4 separate regions of the Homo sapiens genome follow, and regions 2, 3 and 4 are each linked to region 1. The links are contacts of gene promoters, found by promoter capture Hi-C in blood cells and fetal thymus (Javierre and others, 2016). All regions are on one chromosome and are shown on one strand. The core of a region is centred on a gene start or on the middle of the fragment in contact, and the rest is flanking DNA. Distances in the headings are between cores, read along the strand shown. Region 1 holds the start of HAUS3 (HAUS augmin like complex subunit 3). Region 2 overlaps FAM193A (family with sequence similarity 193 member A). Region 3 overlaps FAM193A (family with sequence similarity 193 member A). Region 4 overlaps FAM193A (family with sequence similarity 193 member A).

Region 1 (3,372 bases), core at 570-3,069:
AGTTAATGCTGCTGTGCTTTGCTCTTCCTGACTTAGGTATTTTTCCAAGGAAAATTGCGATAAAAATACCAGTGGATTTGTCCCTTGACCTAAATTAGAATGTCTGAAGAACATCATCAATTGTGTAACTTCATCAGTAAGAGCCTGAAGTTCATTACTGATCTTAGTGATCATTGCATTTAGAATTCCTTGACTCTGCTTCAGCTTTTTAGTGGCTTCTTCTTCTTTAGCATTTAACCTCAGAGATTTGTGGCTAGTTACTGAAGCCATCAATTGACATTTATTACGTCGCTGAATTTTTAGGTTCTTTAATTTCAGTAGAGTTTGAACCTCATCCTCTAATTTCTCCAGCTCTTTATCATCCAGTCTAGGTGTCTTCAAATCAGAAGTTTTACACGTTTTAAGAGCTTCATCCAATGCCGCCCCTTCTAGAATAGGCTTGCCTGATTTCTGAAGAATGCTAAAAGCTTCCAATTCTCTTTCAGACAACACGTTCTGTTCATTCACATTCCCACAAAACCACTTCAGAAACGATTCATCTTCAACGCCCTCAAACAACCAGTCAAAGTCTTCTCCATTAAGATTATCAGCTTTGGGATAACCAATTTTTTTTAATGTTTCCACAAACTCATTTCCACAACTCATGGTTTTAACTACCCCAATTTTGTTGTATCTGATATGGGTTTACGGTGTTGATTTTTAGAAAATAAATCCAAGCAGAAAAAAAGCTACGTTTTATACCAAGTCCACAGAGAAGGGAAAATATATTTTTAGAATCTATAATGATTCCTCCTAGGGGGGAAGAAAACAAGTATTAGACCACAAATATGACGACAGTGTTTTTAAAAAGAAGACACAGACAAATATCACATGATATCCGAGAGCGGGATAAATGACAGGTAGTCGTAGCTGCAATGTTTGATGATGATAAAGAGAAACAGAAACAATTAGGCTAGTTCTCAGAAAACCGCAACAGTAACGAAAAGTAATTAACAAGAAAGTGGATCTATTTGGATCCATTTTATCTTTTTTTCCAAAGATAAAATGGTTTAAAATGCATTACACTTTATAGAGCAGCATTTGTTTTTAATTCAAAATAAATGGATCCAAACAAACCCAAGCCACCAGGAGGCTAGGCAGCCTCTCTTCCCTGCCCTCCGTACGTAAGAAGACGCAAATAAGCATGGCACATCTTCTGAAGATCAACTAAATATTTACCTCAACGTCTCGCCGGGCAAGGCTCCACCTCCAGAGTCCACCACCGCGACGCGGAGAACAGCAGGAGCAGCAGGGAAGCGCGCGGCCACAATTAAGGGTGCTTCGGGCCGGCCTTCAGCCAGCGCTGAGGCAGCCCCGACGCCAGGGCCGCGCGAACCCCAGAGGCAGCGGCAAGCCCCAGGGATCCGCGGCCCCAAGGCCGCGATACACCAGACGCGCCAGCGGCAAAACCTTCCTTCGGAGGGTCACCCAGCTGTGACACCTAAGCACGCTGACAAAACAAACGCACAAGCCCACCGAATCGCCGTCGACACCGAGCTGCAGAAGACGGGGGTGACAGGCCCCGCACAGCCCCCGCCCCAGCTCCTCGCCCAGCGGACCGGGCCCTGATCCCCGGGCAGCTGCTGGAGCACCTGGAAGGAGCCCCCAGGAGCGCAGGAAAAAAAAGAGGCACCTGGGTGCAGACGGGGATCGCGGCCACTCCTCCAGCCCCACACCCCTGCGCCCAGAACCGAGGCCCGCGTCAGTCACCTCAGGAAGTTCCGCTTGCTTCTCGCAGGAGCCCGCCGCCACCGCCCTCCGTGCCCCGCGCGCCTCGCACTGCCTCACGGGAGCGCCTGGACGCGCGCAAGCGCACAAGGCGACGGCGTGGTCGTGGGGGATGACTGTTTGCGCAGGCGTAGTGTCAAAAGAGGCGGAGTCGGCGAGGCTGGACTATGGGGTGGAGCTGAGCAGGCGGCGCTCGGCCCCCGGCCGCTGCGGGCATCCTGCCTCCTGGGCGGGGCGCAGGGCAGAGAGAGGCGGGGTCTGGGCCGGGAAGGGCGGGGACAGGGCCTGGACAGGGGCGGGGCCTGGGCAGGGGGCGGAGCCTGGGCAATGAATGGGGTGCAGAGGGGTGCAGAGGGGTGCGGTGGGGCGCCCTCTGGGGAGCTGAAGCTGCGGGCCTGCTCTCAACGGAGCCGTCAGTTGTGCTTCAGGCCTGCCCTGCCCCGTACTTCAATCTAGACCCTCTGAAGGCACTTTTGAATGGTACAAAGAGCAGCGCAGGTTGGTGGTTGGGAGACAGGCTGGAGCCCGGCGGTGATAGCGCTCGCCCCCGAGAGAGACGAGTTCCCGGAACATTCACAGCAGCCCGACCAATGCCTGGTACATTTTAAGGGTTAGGGATTGTTCGCTTAGAGTCTTTTACAATGAACTTTATTTTGCAAAAACACTTAATTTCTAATCCCTCACCAGAACACTATGTAAAAGCTGACTTCTGGCCGGGCGCGGTGGCTCATGCCTGTAATCCCAGCACTTTGGGAGGCCGGGGGGGGGGGGGGGGGGGATCATGAGGTCAGGAGTTCGAGACCAGCCTGGCCAAGATGGTGAAACCCCATCTCTACTAAAAAATACAAAAATTAGCCGGGCGCGGTGGTGGGCGCCTGTAATCCCAGCGACTCGGGAGGCTGAGGCAGGAGAATCGTTTGAACCCAGGAGGTGGAGGTTGCAGTGAGCCGAGATCACGCCACTGCACTCTAGCCTGGGCGACAGAGCAAGACTCCGTCTCAAAAAAAAAAAAAAAAAAAAAGCTGACTTCCTCCACAATTCCCTTTTCAAAATGTTAGAAATAAACGGAATGGCCTGAGTTAAATACATCGATATATTTAACTCAAGGAGGATGGTACACCATTTCCAAAGAGGATGGCAGTCAGTGAAAGATGACTGAAACGGGATTGCTAAATTTCATGTGAATCTGGCTGATGCCCTACAGCCCAGTGAAACCAGACCTCTCTATTGGACAGAATTCGTTTGCATCTCTACCAAACAAAAATCCTTTGCCACTCCTCAGTCTTCCACAGGTTAGCAGGGGCTTTGGTCATGGGTAAATATAATAGTACTCCCTCCCTTCAGCGTCAAATGACCCTAAAGGTGGCTTGTTAGACAATGTCCTAGTCCAGGGTGACTAGGTAGAAGTCGTTTGGATAGTTTTTCTTAATATTTTTAAGGAGAGAAATAAGAATGTTCTAAGGCAAATATTGTAATCTGATCGAGTCAAAGATATTTCCTATTCATTCTTCACTTGTTTCACGTTTTTTTCCTCCTCTTTTAAAAGTCAATAAGGCCTAAAATGATCTGAAAAACAAACATGATGGGAAAAAATTCAAAGAGTGG
Region 2 (3,372 bases), core at 364-2,863, 440 kb after region 1:
GATTACAGGCATGAGCCACTGTGCCCAGCCCTAAATTATTATTTTTGATGCTGTCGTGAATGGAATTGTTTTCATAATTTCCTTTTCCAACTGACCATTGTTAGTGTATAGACATGCAGCTGATTTTTGAGTGTTGATTTTGTATCTTCCTACTTTGCTGAATTCATCTATTCTAACAGACTGTTTTTGTGGAATCTTTGGAGTTCTCTACATTGTAAAATCATATCATCTACAAACAGAGATAATTTTACTTCTTCCTTTCCAGTTTAGATGCCTTTTATTTCTTTTTCTTGCCTGTTTGCTCCGGCTGAAATTTCTAATACTGTGTTGAAGAGAAGTGATGAAAGCAGGCATCCTTGCCTTGTTCCTGTTATTTAAGGAAAAGCTTTCATTCGTTCACCATTGTTTGCTGTGGGTTTTTCATATATGGCTTTTATTATGTTTTGGTAGTTTTCCTTCTATTCCTAGTTTGTTGGGTGTTTTTGTAATGAATGGGTGTTGAATTTGTCACATGCTTTTTCTGCACCAGTTGTGATGATCTTTGGCTTTTTCCAGTCTGTTAATGTGGCATATTAACATTGATTACTTTTTATACATAGAATTATCCTTGCATTCTGGGAATGAGTCCCACTTGGTCATGGTGTATGAATCTTTTAATATGCTGCTGAATTCAGGTTGCTAGTATTTTGTTGAGGATGTTTGCATGAATGTTCACAAGCGATACTCGTTTGTAGTTTTCTTTCTTTTTTTTTTTTTTTTTTTTTTTTGAGACAGAGTTTTGCTCATTACCCAGGCTGAGTGCAGTGGTGTGATCTTGGCTCACTGCAACCTCTGCCTCCCGGGTTCATGTGATTCTCCTGCCTCAGCCTCCAGAGTAGCTGGGATTACAGGCATGCACCACGAGGCCCGGCTAATTTTGTATTTTTAGTAGAGACAGGGTTTCTACATGTTGGTCAGCTGGTCTCGAACTCCCGACCTCAGGTGATCCACCCGCCTCGGTCTCCCAAAGTGTTGGGATTACAGGTGTGAGCCACCGCGCCCGACCCTGTAGTTTTTCTTACAGTGTCTTTGGCTTTGGTATGGGGATATGCTCAGGACATGAGTTAGAAAGTGTTCCCTCCTCTTCAGTTTTTTGGAAACTTTGAGAAAGATTGGTATTAATTCTTTAAATATTTGGTAGAATTGACTAGTGAAGCCATCAGGTTTGGGGCTTTTCTTTATTGGGTGATTTTTTTTTTTTTCTTTGAGACGGAGTCTTGCTCTGTCACCCAGGCTGGAATGCAGTGGCACAATCTCCACTCACTGCAACCTCCGCCTCTCAGATTCTAAGCGATTCCCTGGCCTCAGCCTCCAAAGTAACTGGAACTACAGGCACATGCCACCACACCCAGCTAATTTTTGTATTTTTAGTAGAGACGGGGTTTTGCCATGTTGGCCAGGCTGGTCTCAAACTCCTGACCTCAGGTTATCCACCCATCTTGGCCTCCCAGAGTGCTGGGATTACAGGCGTGAGCCACTGCGCCCAGCCTATTGGGTGGTTTTTGATTACCAGTTCAATCTCCTTACTAGTTACAGGTCTGTTCAGACTTTTCTATTTCTTTATGATTTCGTCTTGATAGGTTTTGTGTTTCTAAAAATTTTTTCATTTCATCTGTTTTATCCAGTGTGTTGGTGTACAGTTGTTCGTAATACTTTCTTTTTTCTTTGAAACGGCATCTCACTCTGTCACCCAGGCAGGAGTACAATGACATGATCATAGCTCATTGCAGCCTCAAACTCCTGGGCTCAAGCATTCCTCCTCCCTTGGCCCCCCAATAGCTGGGATTACAGGCATGTGCCACCACTCCCAGCTAATTTTTTTTTTATTGTTTTGGACTCTTCCAGAGAGAAGACAGGGTCTCACTATGTTACCCAGTCTGGACTGAAACTCCTGGGCTAAAGCAGTCCTACTACCTCAGCCTCCCAAAGTGCTGGGATTATAGGCATGAGTTACCAAGCCCAGCCAATACTTACTTACTTTTTTTTTTGAGACGGAGTCTTGCTTTGTCACCTAGGCTGAAGTGCAATGGCACCATCTTGGCTCACTGCAACCTCTGCCTCCCAGGTTCAAGAGATTCTCCTGCCTCAGCCTCCCATATAGTTGGGATTACAGGCGCCCACCACCATGCCCGGCTAATTTTTGTATTTTTGGTAGAGATGGGGTTTCACCATGTTGGTCAGGCTGGTCTCGAACCCCTGACCTCAGGTGATCCACCCACCTGGACCTCCCAAAGTGCTGGGATTACAGGCGTGAGCTACAGCGCCGAGCCCAGCCAGTACTTTCTTATAATACCTTTTATGTTTTTTTCTTAATTTTAATTTAATTTTCTGCTTTTTAGAGATATGCTTGCTCTGTTGCCCAGGCTGGAGTGCAGTAGCACGATCATAGCTCACTGGAGCCTCGAACGCTTGAGCTCAAATGATTCTCCTGTGTTAGCCTCCCAAGTAGCTATGATTACAGGTGTGCGCCACCACTCCCAGCCCCTTTTATTTCTGTGTAATCAATAATAATGTCCCCACTTTCATTTCTGATTATAGTAATTTGAGTCTTTTTTTTTTCTTACTCCATCTCACTAAAGTTTTGTCAGTTTTGTTTCTCTTTTCAAAGAACTATATTTTGGTTTCATTGATTTTTTTTTTCCCCTATTGTTTTTCTATTCTCTATTTCATTGATCATTAATCTCTGCTCTAAATTACCTTTCTTCTGCTAGCTTTGGGTTTAGATTGTTCTTTTTCTAATTCATTAAGATGTGAAGTTAGGGAGGGTTTTTTGTTTCATTTTATTTGTTGTTGTTATTGAGACAAAGCTTACTCAGTTGCCCAGCCTGGAGTGTAGTGGTGCGATCTTGGGTCACTGCAACCTCGACCTCCTGGGCTCAAGCAATCCTCCTGACCCATAGTCTCGTAGCTTGGACTACAGGTGTGTGCCACCATGCCCAGCTATCTATCTGTCTGTCTATGTATTTATTTACGTAGGGACGGAGGTCTCACCATGTTGCCCAGGTTGGTCTCAAACTCCTGGGCTCAAGCAGTCCTCCTGCCTCAGCCTCCCAAGGTGCTGGAATTACAGGCATGAGCCACCACGCCTATCCTAGTTAGGTTGCTGATAGAGATCTTTCTTGTTTTTTGATGTGTTTGTAGCTATACATTTTGCTCTTAGTGCTTGCTTTCACTGCGTCCCGTAAGTTTCAGTATGTTATGTTTTTGTTTTCATTTGTCTCTAAGTATTTTCTGCTTTTCTTTGTAATTTCTTTATTGATCCATTGGTTGTTTCCATCCCTTTACTTTTAACTTCTCAGGGTTTTTTTTTTTTTGGTTTTTTTTTTTTTTTGA
Region 3 (3,372 bases), core at 359-2,858, 330 kb after region 1:
GCGCCCGGTCCAGATTCTTGTGTAGAGCCAGCTGATCGGAAACCCACGTGAGGGGTTGAGAAAGTGTCATGGAAACTCTGTTGCTAACAGTGGTGGAATATAACCTTCCAAAAATTGGATTTTATTTAGCAGTAATACAAAAGCAGCCCAAAGGTAGTTTATCGAATCCTATTTATTTTATTGTCATATTTAAGCACAGTTGTGCAGATGTGAGTTTGGTGCTATTTGCCATTTTTATTATTATTAAAACAAATTCTTTTTGAGACAGGGTCTTCTCCGTCACCCGGTCCGGAGTGCAGTGGCCGATCATGACTCACTGCAGCCTCAATCTCCCAGGCTCAAGCTATCCTCCTGCCTCTGCCTCCCGAGTAGCTGGGACCACAGGCATGCACCACCACACCCGGTTAATTTTTAAAACTTTAAAAAATTTTTAAAAGCTGGTCTTGCTGTGTTGCCCAGGCTGGTCTTGAACTCCTGGGCTCAAGTGATCCTCCTGCCTCGGCCTCCCAAAGTGTTAGAATTATGATTGTAATCCACTGCACCCAGCTGCTAATTCCATTAAAATAAAATAAGTTTTCATAATTGGTTGGACTCCAGTATTACCTGGAATTTGGTCACAAAGTTACAGATTTTTAGATTGTTCTGGGATTTATATATTTATCTCTAGAATTTTAGGATGGCAAATTGTTGAGGGGGACCATAATTTGATTTCGTCTCATTCAGATGCTCTTGAAGTTTGAACCACACTGTTAGGGTCAGATGCTGGATAAGTCAAATACATCTGGAGGTTTTCACATCTAATAAGTTACAGAAACTGAGAGTATGACTTTTCTTCACTTTTGGGTATCTTCTGAAATTGTGACTGAACTGCTAAATAGCCCAAAAGTACTTCAGAATCCGGGATTCTGGACAGTAGTGAATGTTCGTAGTCTCCACATGCCATTAGTTAAACTCATTGGGCCGGTTTGAATCTGTACTTCCTTGAACAAATCATGGTACCCTTATGTCTCCCTGCAGGGTTGAATTCAGTGTGTTCAGATATCTTCTGTTTGTAAGAAAGCAGTACATTCTATGAGTTACTGTGGATTTGGTAACCCTAACTCTGAATCTAAGTTCAGAGAGTCATTCTGTGCTAAAGAAGCAACTCTAAATCGCTGCAGTGAGCTTTGGTGACATGGCTCAGGAGATACTGAAATAAACCAAATCTCCTTATGTTTTTTTCCTCCATATATCTTTAACTTTTCCCAAGGTTCCATGAACTGTTACCCTCCTTGCAGAGGTCATGCCACATCTTTCGTTATAGGACACAGCAGTAAAGGGCCCTCTAGCCTGCTCTCTTGACTGGAATAATGGGAACTCATTTCTCCCCATCATAGTGACACAGGAAATAAGCCTTGCCATGTCTAGGTGCAAGGCTGTGGGCAGTTTAGGAGACAGTGTCTCTGTAGGGGGACCAGTTACCCCATGGGTACAGGCCTTGGTGAGCTCCTCCTCAGATCAGGGCTAGGCTAGTTTTCAGGCCCCACTCCCCGGCCTGGGAGCTTTTGTGATTTAGGAGAATGCGTATTTACTGCAAGTCTCACTCACAGATGGGCCTTACTCAGGTGGTCATGTATCCTGGGTAGTAAGTCAAGCACTTTGAGTACCGAACACACAGGGCCTATTTCTCTTCTGCCGTACACTTCCTCCCCTACCTCTGCCTGTTGTATTCAGGGTTCACACACTCAGTTTCGCTTACGGAGTGGGTGGGGGTGTGGGCAGCTGTCTGTGCTGTGGCTCTCTCCCTATGGGGGACTTCGCAGAGCCTCTTTCCTGCCTTGTCACCTTACCCATAGGCTCTGCTCTTTAGTGACTCCCTCCGCGGCCCCAGCCCTTCCTCCTGGCAGCTTCCAATGATGTATTACTGGCAGTGTTGCTTTGTCTTTAGTTCACATTTCCCGTAAGTGGACCAAATTATGTTTTTATGACAGGCCTTGTTGTGGGTCCTGAAGAGAACAGCTGTATTGTACAGGCTGCCCTGTACCCCATGGATTAATTATCCATTCTGAGCCCTGGAGGAGAGGGCAGGTTCTAGAGTACCAGGCAGATGTGGCACCACCTTGCCAGCAGCTCGGAGACTGGTACTTGTTGGCACAGTGAACTTCTGTTTGGTTATGTATAAAAAATTTAGATTTGTACTAGGGTTTTGGAAGTGAATGGCTTCTGAGGTAGAAGTCCTATTTTATTTAAAGATGTCTTTGTGGAAAAGGGTTTTGAGAGGTATGTGTAGAGTGAAATTCTAGAGCAGAACTTTTTTTTTTTTGACACAGAGTTTCGCTCTGTCCTCCAGGCTGGAGTGCAGTGGCATGATCTTGGCTCACTGCAAACTCTGCCTCCTTGGTTCAAGCGATTCTCTCACCTCAGCTTCCCAAGTAGCGGGATTACAGGAGCGTGCCACCAAGCCCAGCTAATTTTTGTATTTTTAGTAGAGACAGAGTTTCGCCATGTTGGCCAGGCTGGTGTTGAACTCCCGACCTCAGGTGATCCACCGGCCTCAGCCTCCCAAAGAGCTGGGATTACAGGTGTGAGCCACAGCGCTCTGCCTAGACCAGAACTTTTTGTTTACTACTTTCTAAATCTTGGTCAAAGGCCAGGCGCTGTGGCTCACGCCTGTAATCCCAGCACTTCGAGAGGCTGAGGCTGGTGGATCATGAGGTCAGGAGATCAAGACCAGCCTGGCCAACATGGTGAAACCCCATCTCTACTAAAGATACAAAAAATTAGCTGGGCATGGTGGCATGTGCCTGTAATCCCAGCTACTTAGGAGGCTGAGGCAGGAGAATCACTTGAACCCAGGAGGCGGAGGTTGCAGTGAGCCGAGATTACACCACTGCAGTCCAGCCTGGGCGACAAGGCCAGCCTCTGTGTCCAAAAAAAAAAAAAAAAAACTGGGTGTGGTTGTGTGTGCCAGTAATCCCAGCTATTGGGGAGGCTGGGGCAGGAGAATCGCTTGAACCTGGCAGGCAGAGGTTGCCGTGAGCCAAGATCGCGCCACTGGACTGCAGCCTAGGCGACAGAGTGAGACTTCATCTCAAAAAAAAAAAAAAAAGTCCAAGGTAACATTTCAAGTTTTCTAATACCGTTTCCCCTGAAATGAGGTTGTGTACGGTGCCTAAATGGAAACCAGATTGTCTGAGGTTGTGGCCCCACAGTGCTCGCTGCAGTGGGGACTTGGGCGTTCTCCAGTCTTCCTAGGGACACTGTATGTCCTCCTGATTTGTAAACTGAGAGATGGAAATGAGATTAAAGGCTGTAGGGTGAGCTGAGGCTGCAGATAGGTTGGAGTTGTCAGTCCCAGGTAAGAGGAGCCCTGTGCCACAGCCTGGTGTGGGA
Region 4 (3,372 bases), core at 223-2,722, 300 kb after region 1:
TGGAGATTGTCATGAGCTGAGATTGTGCCATTGCACTCCAGCCTGGGCAACAAAAGCGAAACTCTGTCTCAAAAAATAACAAAAAACAAACAAAATATTTTAATACTTTTCTGATCTTTTCTGTTCCATGTAATCTCATTAATAAAATCTGGGTTATAGTCCACAGAATTAGTTCATTGTGTACTTTTTTTTTTTTTTTTTTGAGACAGAGTCTCGCTCTGTCACCAGGCTGGAGAGCAGTGGCGTGATCTTGACTCACTGCAACCTCCACCTCCTGGGTTCAAGCGATTCTCCTGCCTCAGCCTCCTGAGTAGCTGGGACTACAGGCGCGTGCCACCACGCCCAGCTAATTTTTGTATTTTTAGTAGAGACAGGGTTTCACCATGTTGGCTAGGATGGTTTCTCTTTCTTGACCTTGTAATCCACCCACCTTGGCCTCCCAAAGTGCTGGGATTACGGGTGTGACCCACTGCAGCCTCTCTATTGTGTACTATTGAGTTGTGTGCTGCACCTTGACAGTTGCTTTTACTGTATTTTAAGCTTTTAAAATATGCCACCATCTTTTATGGTATTTTATTTTATTTTTGAGACAGAGTCTTGCTCTGTCGCCCAGGCTGGAGTGCAGTGGCGCCATCTCGGCTCACTGCAACTTCTGCCTCCTGAGTTCAAGTGATTCCTCCTGAGTTCAAGTGATTCTCCTGCCTCAGCCTCCCGAGTAGCTGAGACTACAGGAGTGCACCACCACACCTGGCAAATTTTTTTTTTTTTTTCAAGACAGAGTCTCACTGCGTCACCCCAGCTGGCGTACAGTGGGGTGATCTTAGCTCACTGCAACCTCCGCCTCCTGGGTTCAAGTGATTCTTTTGCCTCAGCCTCCTGAGTAGCTGGGATTACAGGCATGTGCCACCACACTTGGGTAATTTTTGTATTTTTAGTAGAGACGGGGCTTCACCATGTTGGTCTAGAACTCCTGACCTTGTGATCCACATGCCTTGGCCTCCCAAAGTGCTGGGATTACAGGCGTGAGCAACCACGCCCGGCCATTTTTTGTATTTTTAGTAGAGACGGGGTTTCACCTTGTTGGCCAAGCTGGTCTCGAACTCCTGACCTCAAGTGATCTATCTACCTGCCTGGGCCTCCAAAAGTGCTGGAATTACAGGCGTGAGCCACTGCACCTGGCCGATATTTTAAGCTTTTAAAGCTGTCTTTAGTTTTTAAGTTTCTTTGTAAGTATTTTAATAATTGTTCATTAAAGAAACTCTTTATGGTAACTGGGGTAAAATATTCTTGACACAGATCACAGAAAGTCTTAATGTAATTCTGAAGCCTCTGAATTGTTTCCCCACAGATGGTGAGCTTTTTGGAGTACCTTGTATGGTGCAAAATGGCACCCAAAACAGTATCAACCAGAAACAGTGAGTGGTTTCTGGCCCTATGGTTCCCAGGGAGGCTTTCTGAGTCCTGGCAAGCAGCCTCTACACTCCGTAGTCACCAGGCCAGGAGGTGGATAAGAGAGAAGGCCGAGTGGAAGGACTGTCTTGATTTTCAGGAGTGGTCACAGTCCCACTGTCCTGTGTGCGGGACACAGCACTATGTGTTATACCCAGGACCACCTTCATCGAGGTGGCTGCTGAGCCAAAGAGGGTGTTTCTGCATGTGGGTAGCTTCAACAAAGGAGGAGGACCATGGGAGAAGTAGGAAAACATAACTTAGCTTATAGGGTCTTTGACTCAAAACAGAATTCTTATACACAAAGCTTGGGGAACCACAAATTTGTTAGGCTCTGTTCCATGGGCAAGGTATCAACCTTGCGCTACCTCAGTTTTCTTTTCTTTTTTTTTTTTAAATGGAGTCTCGCTCTGTCACCCAGGCTGGAGTGCCCTGGCGCAATCTTGGCTCACTGCAACCTCCGCCTCCCGGGTTCAAGTGATTCTCCTGCCTCAGCCTCCCAGGTCGCTGGGGCTACTGGTGTGTGCCACTATGCCCAGCTTATTTTTTGTATTTTTAGTAGAGACAGGGTTTCATCATGTTAGCCAGGATGGTCTCGATCTCCTGACCTCGTGATGTACCCGCCTCGGCCTCTCAAAGTGCTAGGATTACGGTGTGAGCCACTGCATTTGGCCACTACCTTGGGTTTCTTAATGATAGGGCACCACAGGCTTGGTAGCTCATACCTATAATCCCAGCATTTAGGGAGGCCAGGGTGGGAGGATCACTTGAGTCCAGGAGTTTGAGATCAGCCTGGGTGACGTGGAGAGACCCTCCCCGCCACTGCTCTACAAAAAATTAAAATAAAAATTAGCCACCATAGGGACCGGGCATAGTGGCTCACGCCTGTAATCTTAGCACTTTGGGAGGCTGAGGTGGGCAGATCACTTGATGTCAGGAGTTTGAGACCAGCCTGGCCAACATGGAGAAACCCCATCTCTACTAAAAAATGCAAAAATTAGCCAGGCATGGTGACGAGCGCCTGTAATCTCAGCTACTCAGGAGGCTGAGACATGAGAATCGCCTGAACCCGGGGTGGGGGGTGCAGGGCTGAGGTTGCAGTGAGCAGAGATCACACCATTGCACTTCAGCCTGCACAAAAGAATGAGACATTGTCTCAAAAAAAAAAAAAAAAAAAAAAAAAACCAAAAAATTAGCCACCATACAGCGTATCCTCTGCTTTGATGGTATGATCGTTGTATAAACATGCTGGTATGATTATTATGGATCTTTGGGGTACATGAGGGTGCACTTAGAAGCCTTCCCTGTATTGTAGAAATTGCGACCACGGTGAAATTAGGTTATCATTAACTCTAGTTCATATTTGCCTAGTGACCTGAGGAAATAGGTTGAAGAAAAATGTAGAACTTCCTGTGTCTTAACTAAAATTAACAATTTTAACTTTTAAAAGTTTAAATGGTTACCATACACGCTTTAGAAATGGTGTACCTGCAGAGAGCATGTCTGTGATTCAGTATTTTTTCTATGTGTACACCTATGTAATAAATATATCAAGATAAAGAATATAGGTTGGCACAGTGGCCCATAGCCATGATCCCAGCACTTTGGAAGGCCGAGGTGGGAGAATCACTTGAGGCCAGGAGTTCAGGACCAGCTTGAGCTATGTAGTGAGACTCTGTCTCAACAAAAAACTTAATTCTAATTAGCCTGGCCAGGCGCTGTGGCTCACACCTGTAATCCCAGCACTTTGGGAGGCCGAGGTGGAAGGATCACGAGGTCAGGAGTTTGAGCCCAGCCTGGCCAACATGGTAAAACCCCATTCTCTACTAAAAATACAAAAAAATTAGCTGGGTGTGGTGGTGGGCGCCTGTAATCCTAGCTACTCGGGAGGCTGAGGCAGGAGAATTGCTTGAACCCAGGAGG

What was found. The method cuts DNA at HindIII sites, captures the fragments that hold promoters and counts their contacts. A CHiCAGO score of 5 or more calls a contact.
Region 2: a fragment that was not itself captured here is called in contact with the fragment with the promoter of HAUS3 in region 1 in 1 of 17 cell types (M2 macrophages); the score reaches 5.5 in M2 macrophages.
Region 3: a fragment that was not itself captured here is called in contact with the fragment with the promoter of HAUS3 in region 1 in 1 of 17 cell types (M2 macrophages); the score reaches 9.4 in M2 macrophages.
Region 4: a contact is called between a fragment that was not itself captured here and the fragment with the promoter of HAUS3 in region 1, in 2 of 17 cell types (naive CD4 T cells and total CD8 T cells). The highest score is 5.8, in naive CD4 T cells.

Annotation. Positions count from the first base shown.
Region 1 is chr4:2,240,302-2,243,673 of GRCh38, forward strand. HAUS3 (HAUS augmin like complex subunit 3) reads right to left here and starts at 1,820. Exons shown (of 6, transcript NM_001303143.2): 1 at 1,750-1,820; 2 at 1,219-1,489; 3 at 1-792. The coding sequence starts at 645. It overlaps POLN (DNA polymerase nu), which reads right to left and starts at 1,820. Exons shown (of 26, transcript NM_181808.4): 1 at 1,750-1,820; 2 at 1,219-1,489. It also overlaps the pseudogene COX6B1P5. RefSeq lists enhancers at 1,003-1,504, 1,111-1,210 and a silencer at 1,891-2,250. The HindIII fragment of the contact is 3,838 bases long and covers 466-3,372 here.
Region 2 is chr4:2,678,633-2,682,004 of GRCh38, forward strand. All of the region lies in intron 13 of FAM193A (family with sequence similarity 193 member A), which reads left to right. Among named protein-coding and RNA genes, the nearest start is that of TNIP2, 76 kb to the right of the region's middle. The HindIII fragment of the contact is 2,461 bases long and covers 384-2,844 here.
Region 3 is chr4:2,569,257-2,572,628 of GRCh38, forward strand. The region is part of intron 1 of FAM193A (family with sequence similarity 193 member A); the gene reads left to right. Among named protein-coding and RNA genes, the nearest start is that of FAM193A, 34 kb to the left of the region's middle. The HindIII fragment of the contact is 8,103 bases long and covers 1-3,372 here.
Region 4 is chr4:2,541,263-2,544,634 of GRCh38, forward strand. The region is part of intron 1 of FAM193A (family with sequence similarity 193 member A); the gene reads left to right. Among named protein-coding and RNA genes, the nearest start is that of FAM193A, 6.3 kb to the left of the region's middle. The HindIII fragment of the contact is 564 bases long and covers 1,191-1,754 here.